Regions from separate parts of the Homo sapiens genome. Here region 1 is linked to region 2. The links are contacts of gene promoters, found by promoter capture Hi-C in blood cells and fetal thymus (Javierre and others, 2016). All regions are on one chromosome and are shown on one strand. Each heading gives the region's core, a stretch centred on a gene start or on the middle of the fragment in contact. The rest is flanking DNA. Distances are from core to core; before and after follow the strand shown. Region 1 holds the start of CDK4 (cyclin dependent kinase 4). Region 2 overlaps STAC3 (SH3 and cysteine rich domain 3).

Region 1 (5,223 bases), core at 2,724-5,223, 510 kb before region 2:
AAATACTGAGCTAAGCAAGGGCGCTGGCTGGGCCCCTCCCTTCAAGGGGGGCACAGAAGCACTCTCCTTTCTGCCCACCTGCAAGAGAACAGGTCCCCTTAGCTTACGGAGACCCTGGGGCGAGGGAAATAGGAGAGAACAGCAGTCCCTGTTAATGGGTGAGAGGGATTTTGCGCTCTCCGGGGAGAAAGCCCCACCCCTTCCTGGGGACCCTTGACCCTCCGACACAAACAAGCGCTCCAGGAGTCCCCTGCCAGCCCCTCGGCCTCACCCCATTCCCACTCCGTGTCCTGGGGCCCGCCCAGCCTCCTTAGGCGCCGCGCCTGCTCGCGGTCTCCGCTGACACCCCAGGTGCGCGCCTCCACCCTCCGCGCCCGGCCAGGTGCCCAGGCCTGACCTGCTCCGGGCCCTGGAAGCAGATCCGGCACTGAGGGGTTCGGAGTCCGCTGTCCAGGCTACTGCTGAGCGACAGGGCGTCCAGCGCGCCCGGGGGCGGCAGCGGCGGCGCGGGCGGCGGCAGGGGTCCGGCCCGCGGCTCCTTGTCGCCGGCCAGGCCCCGGGCCCGCGGCTCCGACCCGTAGTACTCCTCCTCGTCGCCGTCGCCGTCCCGGGTGGAGCAGCCAGCGAAGGGCGCCCAGCCGCAGCCGCCTCCCCGGCCCCCCCGGGGTTGCGGCTCGGCCCGGGGCCGCCCCCCGCCTGTCAGCACCAGCAGCTTCAGCTCGTTCAGAAACATGCGGAGCCGAGACTTGAGCATCGTCCGGACACCGGGGGCGGGGGGCAGCGTGCAAGGGGGGCTCGCTAGCGGCGGGGGGAGGGGAGAGGACAAGGCCGGGAAGGGGGCGCGCGCTAGAGAGCCGAGCCGGGCCGGGGTCTTCGGGGCCTGCGACAGCCGTTCACTGCTGCCACCGCCGGGGCTCCGGTGCTTGCGGGGCCGAGCGGGCTGGCGGCCCGGGGGCGGCGGGGTGGGCGGCCATGGCCAGGGCAGGGGGCGGGGAGGGGGGCTCAGGGTGCCGCACCCCGCGGGTCTGGGTCTGGAGCGGGCCGGGCCCCCGGGGTTACGCGCCCGGGTCCTCCTGCGGCGGGGCCGCCCCCCATCGCCGTTCTCTCGGTCCCAGTCCCCCTCCGGCTCCGGGATCAGGCTTGGCTCGGCCCGTGCGCTCGGCGGTGGCAAATGGCGGCTCCTTCCGGCGGCGGCGGCGGCGGAGACCCCCCCGGAGTGGCGGGCGGGCGGGGCGGGCGCCGGGGAGCGGGTGAAGGATGGAGGGAGGGGCGGGGCGGGGAGGGGGAGAGGAGAAGGGGCCGCGGCTGCGCATCCCCGCCCTGCCCCGCACGAGCAGGTGTCCCAGGGGCGGGGGCAAGTGTGGGATCCCGAGGAGGGTGGAGGAAGGGGAGTGGCCAAGGAAGGGGAGTGTGCACACAAGTTGACTAGGTGTGTGTCTGGGAGTGGGGGATGAGCGGGTGAGCATGGAAGGTGAGTGGTTAAATGACGCAGGTGTACCAGGGAGGGTGAGGCTTGTGCAAAATGGGAATGTGCAAAGAAAGAGCTGTGCAAGTGTCGGAGGTGTGAGGGAGGTACATGGGCAGGGGTGGGACTCAAGCAATATACACTTTACCCAAAGGGCTGAAAAGTGTGATCGATGGGGACTGGGAAAGAGAGGTGTGTAAGGAATGGAATCGGATTGTCTGAGAAACAGAAGCCTGTGATTGTAATGTGTGAAGGAGGTGAGGGAGGGAGCAGGGGAGGTAGGCGTGCTAAAGGGATGGGAGTGTCTTTCCTGGTACTCTCCTGCCCTCACCTCCACTACACTGAAGTGAACAATACACACACTTACCCCTTTCCTTTTATGGAGACTTCCCTCTGAGGCCAAGTTCTACCCCCATCACATTTTTTTCTTTCTTACACTTACATTCTCCCTCTCCTCCCCTTTGCAAAGCTGAGGGAAAAGGGATTCCAGGGGAGCTCATTGGGTCAAACATACTGGGAAAAAATTTAATTAGTGAAAGAGTAATTAACAGAAGAAGGGAGGGGACAGAGCCTGGGACAGACTGCCAAATTAAGGTTCCTCAATAGAAAGTGATGGAGAGACAGTAATGTTCCCATGAAGTATTCAAATGTTTTGGATGGACTAATGAATGAATCAGAAAAAGGGGCTGGGACCCAAGCAGACAGAGAGGACGTCTTCTGTTGCAAAGACAGTAAGCTGTGAAGGTCTTATGTGGAAGGTGAGGCTGAAGTGGGGAATGCTGGTGTGGGAAGGGAGTTTGAAAAACTCACAGACAATTATCTTAGCCTTCCAGAAGGCTTACAAAGCACCCACCCCTAGCAAGGTAGCCAATAAAACATTCACCTCTTGAGCCCCTTAGTCAGTTCAGTCCTTGAGGTTTTTCTTACTAGTGTTCCAGCTGCCCTTGCCAGGAGGGGCCCAGGGCTACAAGTATCAGGATGGAAAGAGGAGGCATCTGTATTAATATGTATTCTATTTTGCTCTAAGTCATGGTTTATATTCATCTTCTAGTTTGAACTCTTATATTCTCAGCCAGATGGTTAAGGAAAACAGAAGTTAGAGTGGAAGGAGTGGCAAATAGGGTAATAAAATGGCTTTAGATTTTAGACAAATTCTCACAAATGAGACACTAACCGCTTTCCTCCTTTACTCCCATACCCCCAAAGGGCTGGGAGATAAAGACCTTGGAGCCAATAAAACAAAGTAGGAGAAATCTACTTGTGTCTACCTAGGTGTCTGGGCAGAGGCCATTTGGGAACAAGTGTGTTCTGGACAGTGCTAAGTGCTAAGAAAGCGGCACTAGGGAAAAAGAGGGAAGCACAATAACTCCAAATGAGTAGTCACAAGGTTTGCAGAAGGGGGCATGTCATTTTCATTCATTGTGGTGGTCTGGAGGGTGCAGGGGGTGTGGTGGTAACTTTCTTGCACATGTGCAATCCTGTATCCGTCTTATATATGATGTGATAAATAATATCATATACATACATATATACATAGAAGCATATATGCACACATACAAATATCACATAATCATAGAACCTTCCTACTGGAAAAAAAAAAAAAACTTAAAAGGTCAAGTATTCCTGTCTCCTGCTCATCAATAACTTCTCTGCCAGATGGCCTCAGGTCTTTGCATTAACACTCCCAGGGAGGTTTGGAAGTTGGAAAAGTGAGAGGATTACCTTGTCACTGAGCCTGTTGGATTACTGTATTAATCTGCCTTCCGTCATCCTTTAATCGTAGTTTTGCCCTCAAATGGGCATTGTTTACTCCCTATTGTAGAAGACCCCATTGTTGGCTACATCTTTATAGATAGTCGTACCACTACTTTAAAGGGCCAGTGACAGACACCAAAAACAAAATAAAAACCCACATACACACTGGAAGCAAGCACTCAGTAAAATGTTGTAGAATTAATGAATGAAACAATGACACAAATGAGAGTATGTTTTCTCATGGTGGAGCGAAAAGGTGACAGCATCACCTCTGGTACCCCAACTCCCACCCCCTCCCCAATGCAGACAGGCTGAAAGACCGGTAGTGAGACTGGAGTTCAGCCTTCAGACCGGTAGTGAGACAATCCTTCAGCCGGGAGTTGGGCTCTGGGTGGCCTAGGTTGCCATGGCACCGCCTCGGGCTCCACCCTCTCTTGTCCCCCTCACCGCTCCCCCCCTGCAGCGGGGGTTGTGGCAGCCAGTCACGTGCCCGCCGCGTAGCCACACCTCTGCTCCTCAGAGCAATGTCAAGCGGTCACGTGTGATAGCAACAGATCACGTGGCTGCCATCGCCCCTCCGCCCCCTTACACTCTTCGCCCTCCTCCCAGTCGAAGCACCTCCTGTCCGCCCCTCAGCGCATGGGTGGCGGTCACGTGCCCAGAACGTCCGGCGTTCGCCCCGCCCTCCCAGTTTCCGCGCGCCTCTTTGGCAGCTGGTCACATGGTGAGGGTGGGGGTGAGGGGGCCTCTCTAGCTTGCGGCCTGTGTCTATGGTCGGGCCCTCTGCGTCCAGCTGCTCCGGACCGAGCTCGGGTGTATGGGGCCGTAGGAACCGGCTCCGGGGCCCCGATAACGGGCCGCCCCCACAGCACCCCGGGCTGGCGTGAGGTAAGTGCAGTCCCTTCCCAGGAATGAGAACCAGTGCCCGCCCCCCTCACAGCTTTCCACGCGTTCGTTTCGCGAGCTGGTTATGGAAGGGTCGCTCAAGGGCGGGAAGTGGGGCCTTTGTGGTCATGGGAAAGTATAATTTTAGGGACTGAGGTGTAGGATCTTCGATGCAAGGCATGTGTCATGTGTGATCTTTGTGCGGGGCGCGATTGTCCCAAAGGAAAAAGCGTTTTCTATTGCAGGGCCTCACGTGGCTGGAGGGGTTGGTATTGAGTCATTGTGTTATCTCTGGGGCCGGCCCCAAGGAAGACTGGGAGCGGGGGATGGGATGCTGGTGGTGTTCTTTGCGCTTTTTTTTTGGGAGTCCCTTTGTTGCTGCAGGCTCATACCATCCTAACTCTGTAAGCGACTTTTGGTGATAGGAGTCTGTGATTGTAGGGTCTCCCTTGATCTGAGAATGGCTACCTCTCGATATGAGCCAGTGGCTGAAATTGGTGTCGGTGCCTATGGGACAGTGTACAAGGCCCGTGATCCCCACAGTGGCCACTTTGTGGCCCTCAAGAGTGTGAGAGTCCCCAATGGAGGAGGAGGTGGAGGAGGCCTTCCCATCAGCACAGTTCGTGAGGTGGCTTTACTGAGGCGACTGGAGGCTTTTGAGCATCCCAATGTTGTCCGGTGAGAAGGTGGTGGAGGGTTGGGCGTGGGGAGTAAAGGGAAAAGACAGCCTATAGGTGGGGTGTGATGATCTGTAGAGAAGTGGGGACCCTGAGGAAATAATGAGAGGCCATGTTGGGTTAAAGGGGATTGAAAAGTGAGCATTTACTCTGGTCAGGCTGATGGACGTCTGTGCCACATCCCGAACTGACCGGGAGATCAAGGTAACCCTGGTGTTTGAGCATGTAGACCAGGACCTAAGGACATATCTGGACAAGGCACCCCCACCAGGCTTGCCAGCCGAAACGATCAAGGTGAGTGGGGTTGGTAGGCATTGAGAGGTGGATTGGGACCTTTGTAGTAGAACCTTCTGGGATTTCAGGTATGGTGCCTAGTTTCCAGTGCATCTGTACCTCCCCTTTGAAACTAGGATCTGATGCGCCAGTTTCTAAGAGGCCTAG
Region 2 (5,842 bases), core at 116-2,615:
CACCGCCACCCAACACACACATGGGTATCCATCTACTCAATCCCACCTCTCCCTTCCTTTCCTCCAAGCCTTTCTCTGCCTTCCCAATAATGTCTTCTTTCTCCTCCCATTCGATTAGCTGCTGCCAATCGCAATGATCCTGTGTTTGAAACCCTGCGCACTGGGGTGATCATGGCAAACAAGGAACGGAAGAAGGGACAGGCAGATAAGAAAAATGTGAGCACTGTACCTCCCCACGAGGTCCCTCCCAGAGATCCCATGGAGCAGGTCATTTTCCCATTTGGAAAGCTGACAGAAGTAATGGATTGTCTTCCCCTAAAATTGCACAAAACTCGGCCAGGCATGGTGGCTCACGCCTGTAATCCCAGCACTTTGGGAGGCCGAGGTGGGCAGATTACCTGAGGTCAGGAGTTCGAAACCTGCCTGGCCAACGTGGTGAAACCCTGTCTCTACTAAAAATACAAAAATAAAAATAAAAAATCCGGGTGTGGTGGTGCTCGCTTGTAATCCCAGCTACTTGGGAGGCTGAGGCAGGAGAATCGCTTGAACCCGGGAGGCAGAGGTTGCAGTAAGCCACTGCACTCCAGCCTGGGGGAGAAAGTGAGACCCTGTCAAGAAAAAAAAAAAAGGAAGGAAGGAAGGAAAGGAAGGAAGGAAGGGAAAAGAAAAGATAAATGTACATATCTGATCAAAAAAATCAACTGCAAAAAACAACTAGAAATCTGGCCTCAAACTTGTTGATATGGAGGTTGGACACAGATAAGGGATTTCTATGGAGTGAATTAATGACTTGTAAGGCACTAGCAATGTGATATGGCTGCTTCCAGAAGGGCTAACATACTCTTGGGTTATATTCTTTTAAGGGAATTATAAAAATTGTGCTGCTCTTTTTTTTTTTTTTTTTTTTTTTGAGATAGAGTTTCGCTCTTGTTGCCCAGGCTGGAGTGCAATGGCACGATCTCGGCTCACCGCAAACTCTGCCTCCCGGGTCCAAGCGATTATCCTGCCTCAGCCTCCCGAGTAGCTGGGATTACAGGCATGTGCCACCATGCCTGGCTAATTTTGTATTTTTAGTAGAGAGGAGATTTCTCCATGTTGGTCAGGCTGGTCTCGAACTCCCGACCTCAGGTGATCCGCCCACCTCGGCCTCCCAAAGTGCTGGGATTACAAGCATAAGCCACCGCGCCTGACCATGCTGCTCACTTTTTACTTACACACTGGAGTATTTTTAAAGGCTGACAGCATAGTCAAGGACCTGGAATCTGGTAGTGAATTCCCTGTTATTTAGCTACATTCAAGCAGAATGTGGGTGACCCACCTGATAGGATGTTTTAGGGAAAGTCCCTGCATGGCCGGGCACAGTGGGTCACGCCTGTAATCCCAGCACTTTGGGAGGCCGAGGCTGGTGGATCACGAGGTCAGGAGATTGAGATCATCCTGGCTAACACGGTGAAACCCCGTCTCTACTAAAAATACAAAAAATTAGCCGGGCGTGGTGGCAGGCGCCTGTAGTCCCAGCTACTCAGGAGGCTGTGGCAGGAGAATGGCGTGAACCTGGAGGCGGAGCTGGCACTGAGCCAAGATTGCGCCACTGCACTCCAGCCTGGGTGACGGAGGGAGACCCGTCTCAAAAAAAAAAAAAAAGTTCCTGCATTAGGCAGATGGCTGAACTAGATATTTCCTCCAAGGCCTCTTCCAACTCTGAGATCTCTGAGATCCCATTATTCTATAGTTCTCTGACCTGATTATAGACAGCCAGGGCATGTGTTCCCAAGACAGCGTCTCCCTAACTCTGGTGCCCCCTCCAGCCTGTAGCAGCCATGATGGAGGAGGAGCCAGAGTCGGCCAGACCAGAGGAAGGCAAACCCCAGGATGGTGAGTGTTACCCACCTCCATCCAGAGATGGAGTAGGATCAGAGGCTCAGCTGTGGAACAGAGGGTGGAGGAGCAAAGGGCAGGCCAGCTTTGGATAGACGAGGCCCTTCCACAAAAGGGTAAGAGAATAAGAATTGCCCTCCAGGAGACAGACAATTTGTTGGTGTTTCCTATCCCAGGAAACCCTGAAGGGGATAAGAAGGCTGAGAAGAAGACACCTGATGACAAGGTAAGAATCCTTCCTCCCTGCAAGGAACCCAGTTCTCTCCCCAACCCAGCTCTGACACCACTACTCATGGCCCTGGCAGAAGCTCACTCTTTAACTCCTAGGCTTCCCATCACTTCTGACCCACACTCTCCATCAACTTGCACACCCACCCACGACCAAAACACTTCTCTCAGTTCAGGGACCTAGAAGAGAGTTGGAGTGTAGAGTGTGTGGTGAATGTCCCTGCCTTGGAATCCTGCCCCTCAGTGTGGGGTAGAGGAGCCCTAAGACTCATCATTCCCTTGCACCCCCAGCACAAGCAGCCTGGCTTCCAGCAGTCTCATTACTTTGTGGCTCTCTATCGGTTCAAAGCCCTGGAGAAGGACGATCTGGATTTCCCGTGAGAGGCCTTGGGGCAGGGGGCTGGTACTGCGGAGTGAAGAGGAAAGAGCTGGGTTCCCCCAAGGGAAAGGAAAAGGGGGGACTCAGGGCTTGGAGCCTATTGATGCTGGACCCGGGGCACAGCAGGGGACCTGCTATGTGAGTGAGGCCCCTCCCTTCCCCTCCCAGGCCAGGAGAGAAGATCACAGTCATTGATGACTCCAATGAAGAATGGTGGCGGGTGAGAGAAATGGCTAGGGCTAGGGTGGAGTGTGGGTTGAGTCCAGAACCCGACATTGAGAGATGGACTCTCCCTACTATCTTCCCTAGGGGAAAATCGGGGAGAAGGTCGGATTTTTCCCTCCAAACTTCATCATTCGGGTCCGGGCTGGAGAACGTGTGCACCGCGTGACGAGATCCTTCGTGGGGAACCGCGAGATAGGGCAGATCACTCTCAAGAAGGACCAGGTAGGCTGTTGCCCCAACCCAATCCCAGGCCTGAATGCTCCCTAGCCCACCACACTCCTTGGAGAGCTTAACCATTAATAAGACTAGGGTGAGCCCCTGTAAACCCCGGCTCCCCTGCTGTCCTCTCCTACCTTTTCCTTTGATTCCTCTCCTACTTCTGATCCTTTAATCTTCTAGATCGTGGTGCAGAAAGGAGACGAAGCGGGCGGCTACGTCAAGGTCTACACCGGCCGCAAGGTGGGGCTGTTTCCCACCGACTTTCTAGAGGAAATTTAGGCGTGCGGGCGCCTGCAAGCGGGAGACACCCACACCCCATTCTGGGCGGGCCCAGTGGAGTTTGGGGAGGGGGGCGAAAGCAACGGGACTGCTGGGAGAGGAGGGGTAGGAAGGCCCGCCTGAGCGCGACGGGGCTTCCGGGAAGGGACTGGTTCTCGCCCCCTTCCCCAGCCTGGGGCCTCGGATACCTGCTGCCCAGAGCAGCCCGGACCCGAAACCTTTCAGGCCCCGCTTGCAAGAGCTGGAAAAAAACGCGTATCTACTAGGAGGAGCCAGGGACTGGGGCGGGGGGCGGGGGCGAGGGAGGGCGAACTGTCGAATGTTGCGAATTTATTAAACTTTTGACAAAACTTAGAAAAGTTGTTATTTAACTGGGGTTGAGGAGAGGGCCTGCGGAGGGGTGGAGAATCCTCCCTAGCTGTCCCGCCTCGTTACCATCGGGTAACCTGAGACCCATCTGGGCTGAGGTTGGCGGGAGGTGGGAAGTGCGCCCGCCAGGTGAGGCCTCTGTAGTCAGTAAAGAAAGGGGAGCGCAGGGCTGGAGTCGCCGCCCCCGCGCCCCAGCGGTTGGGAGCAGGATCTTGTAGTAGGGTAAGTCCCCCCTTGCTCTTGGCGATTTAGCCGCAGGCAGCCCCTTGCATTTCGGAATCTGGCTTGGCGCCGAGCTAGGCCGCCAGGGGGCGATGCAAGATCTCGGTTGGAGAGCGAGGGATGGGGAGGGGGTGGAGGGTGGGTAAGGGGAGACAACCAGAGACACCAAGCCCGAGACCCTGGGCCTGGGAGGGGGTGGGGTGCGTGCCGTCTCCATGGCAACACTTCCTCAAGTCCTCCGAGAACCGAGCTAGCTAGGCCGGGGGCCTAACCCCACCCGCGCGGCCCCTGCCCTAACCCTTTCCGACAGGTACCGAGTGAGAACGGAGGGCAGACAGCTAACCGGCTCTCGCGGAGACACCCCTGCGGAGCACCGTATGCAAATGTTATTATTTGCATATGCAAATATGCAAATACGCCGGCCCTGGTCAGGGCGGCAGGTGGCGAGGAGCAGGAAGGTGTGGGGAAGGGAGCAGAAGGAGACGAGGAGTTTGGGGACCTGAGAGCGGACCCAGTGAGAGGCAGGCTGGGGTGGTCGCTGGAGTGGGGCAGGCGTGTGTGGGGGGGGTCTTGAGCTCGATGCCGGGTGGGGGAGGGTCGGCTTGGCCAGCCAGGAGCTCCTCTTCTCGTCTGCCCGTTGTCTGCCAGGACCGAGGTTGGCACCGCCTAGCAAGGTTGGCAGCGGGAGCCCGGGCACCATCTGCTGCTGGCGGGGGGAGGGCAGAGGCTCAGCTGGGCTGGGGAAGAGGAGGCCTGGGACGGGCGCGCCCCCCTTCCAGAAGGCTGAGGTGTGATGGGGGTAGGGAAGCACACAAGAAGACTCTGCAGAACCGGGTTCAGTTTTCTGTTCCCTTTGCCCTTGACGGTCCCGGATGCCTGAGGGGGTGGGGGCGGAGTCATTAAAGAAGACCCCCCCCTTTAATCGCGATTGAGCTGGAATAGGAACAGATCACAGGCAAACACACACACCAACCACACGCAAATCAAGCATTCTGTCCTTATCCTTCCTTGAAATCCACCTACCAGGAATGTATGAGGGGAGGGACCGCGAGGGCTCGGGTCGTCTCTATTCATCAAGGTCTGAGGGACTCAAAATCAGAGCCCCCCGAGATCCTCGAGAGACCCCCGCCAATGCTAAGGCAAAACCAATTTACTGGCTCATTGGGCGGCAATGCTGGTGTGCGGATGCCGAGAAGCAGGGAGAGCGGCTGTTCTCCCCCAACACTCGGGGGGCGCCCCCCTCCCTAGCCTCACTGAGCCGGCAGCTGTCCCTAATTAGAGCGGCGGTTTAATTGGATTTATCAGCAGTTAATAGGAAATTAAGCAAAGGGCCCGAGAGAAGGGGGGCGGGAAAAGCGGGGAAACAGGCTGTGCTGAACTAGAAGGAGGGGTGCTAGGGTACCAGGGGTGGGGACATGTGACCCAGTGTCCCGATCGAGCCCCACGGTCACACCCTCCCGTCATTACTCACCAAGACTCTTAAGCCCTGGCCCGCGGGCCGGAGAGCAGGTCCCCAGAGAGGGCGGCAGGCGTGACAGCGACCCTATGTGAGCTCCCAGCGCCCTCCATCCCCCTAAACGGCGCCTGGGTGATGGATGATACTGCCGCATGCTGCAAAGGTCATAAGTCTGGGCCAAGGAGCAGACTGAATTGAAAACAGATCCGAGGAAGGGCCGGTACTGGGGTACAAGACAACCGGCACCCCAACCTCCTCCACTGCCCACTCTACTCAGCGCGCGCGCGCGCGCACACACACACACACGTGCCCCTTGAAGTTGGAAGACTGGGCAGCACGGGGGGAAAAGGCAGAGTACAGAGTGACCCTTTCTATAAACCCCACCAGCAGCAGTGTTGGGGATCCTGAGAATCTCTCGGTGCAGCTCCAGTGTTCCCTTTAGGCTCTCCCTCCACGAAACTGCCCGATTTGGGTCAGTGGGGTCCGCCCGGTCTGCTGCTCAGGGGCAGCCCAACGTCGGCGCTACCCGCCCTAGGGGCCAGTCAAGGAAGCTTGCAGACAGCTAAGCCCTGGTGCACGGGCCTCCT

What was found. Contacts are between HindIII fragments. The CHiCAGO score rates a contact against its expected background, and 5 or more counts as called.
Region 1: a contact is called between the fragment with the promoter of CDK4 here and a fragment that was not itself captured in region 2, in 1 of 17 cell types (neutrophils). The highest score is 5.6, in neutrophils.

What each region holds. Positions count from the first base shown.
Region 1 is chr12:57,751,060-57,756,282 of GRCh38, reverse strand. It overlaps CDK4 (cyclin dependent kinase 4), which reads left to right and starts at 3,973. Exons shown (of 8, transcript NM_000075.4): 1 at 3,973-4,108; 2 at 4,547-4,783; 3 at 4,941-5,076; 4 at 5,193-5,223. The coding sequence starts at 4,566. MARCHF9 (membrane associated ring-CH-type finger 9) reads right to left here and starts at 1,180. Exons shown (of 4, transcript NM_138396.6): 1 at 398-1,180. The coding sequence starts at 754. RefSeq lists silencers at 528-577, 638-737, 3,524-3,643, 3,874-3,953, 4,684-4,823 and 1 more and an enhancer at 3,614-4,347. The HindIII fragment of the contact is 8,675 bases long and covers 1-5,223 here.
Region 2 is chr12:57,241,178-57,247,019 of GRCh38, reverse strand. It overlaps STAC3 (SH3 and cysteine rich domain 3), which reads left to right. Exons shown (of 12, transcript NM_145064.3): 6 at 119-216; 7 at 1,809-1,875; 8 at 2,055-2,104; 9 at 2,398-2,483; 10 at 2,654-2,705; 11 at 2,795-2,932; 12 at 3,110-3,562. The coding sequence ends at 3,208. Among named protein-coding and RNA genes, the nearest start is that of COXFA4L2, 7.0 kb to the right of the region's middle. RefSeq lists an enhancer at 3,889-4,792. The HindIII fragment of the contact is 8,886 bases long and covers 1-5,808 here.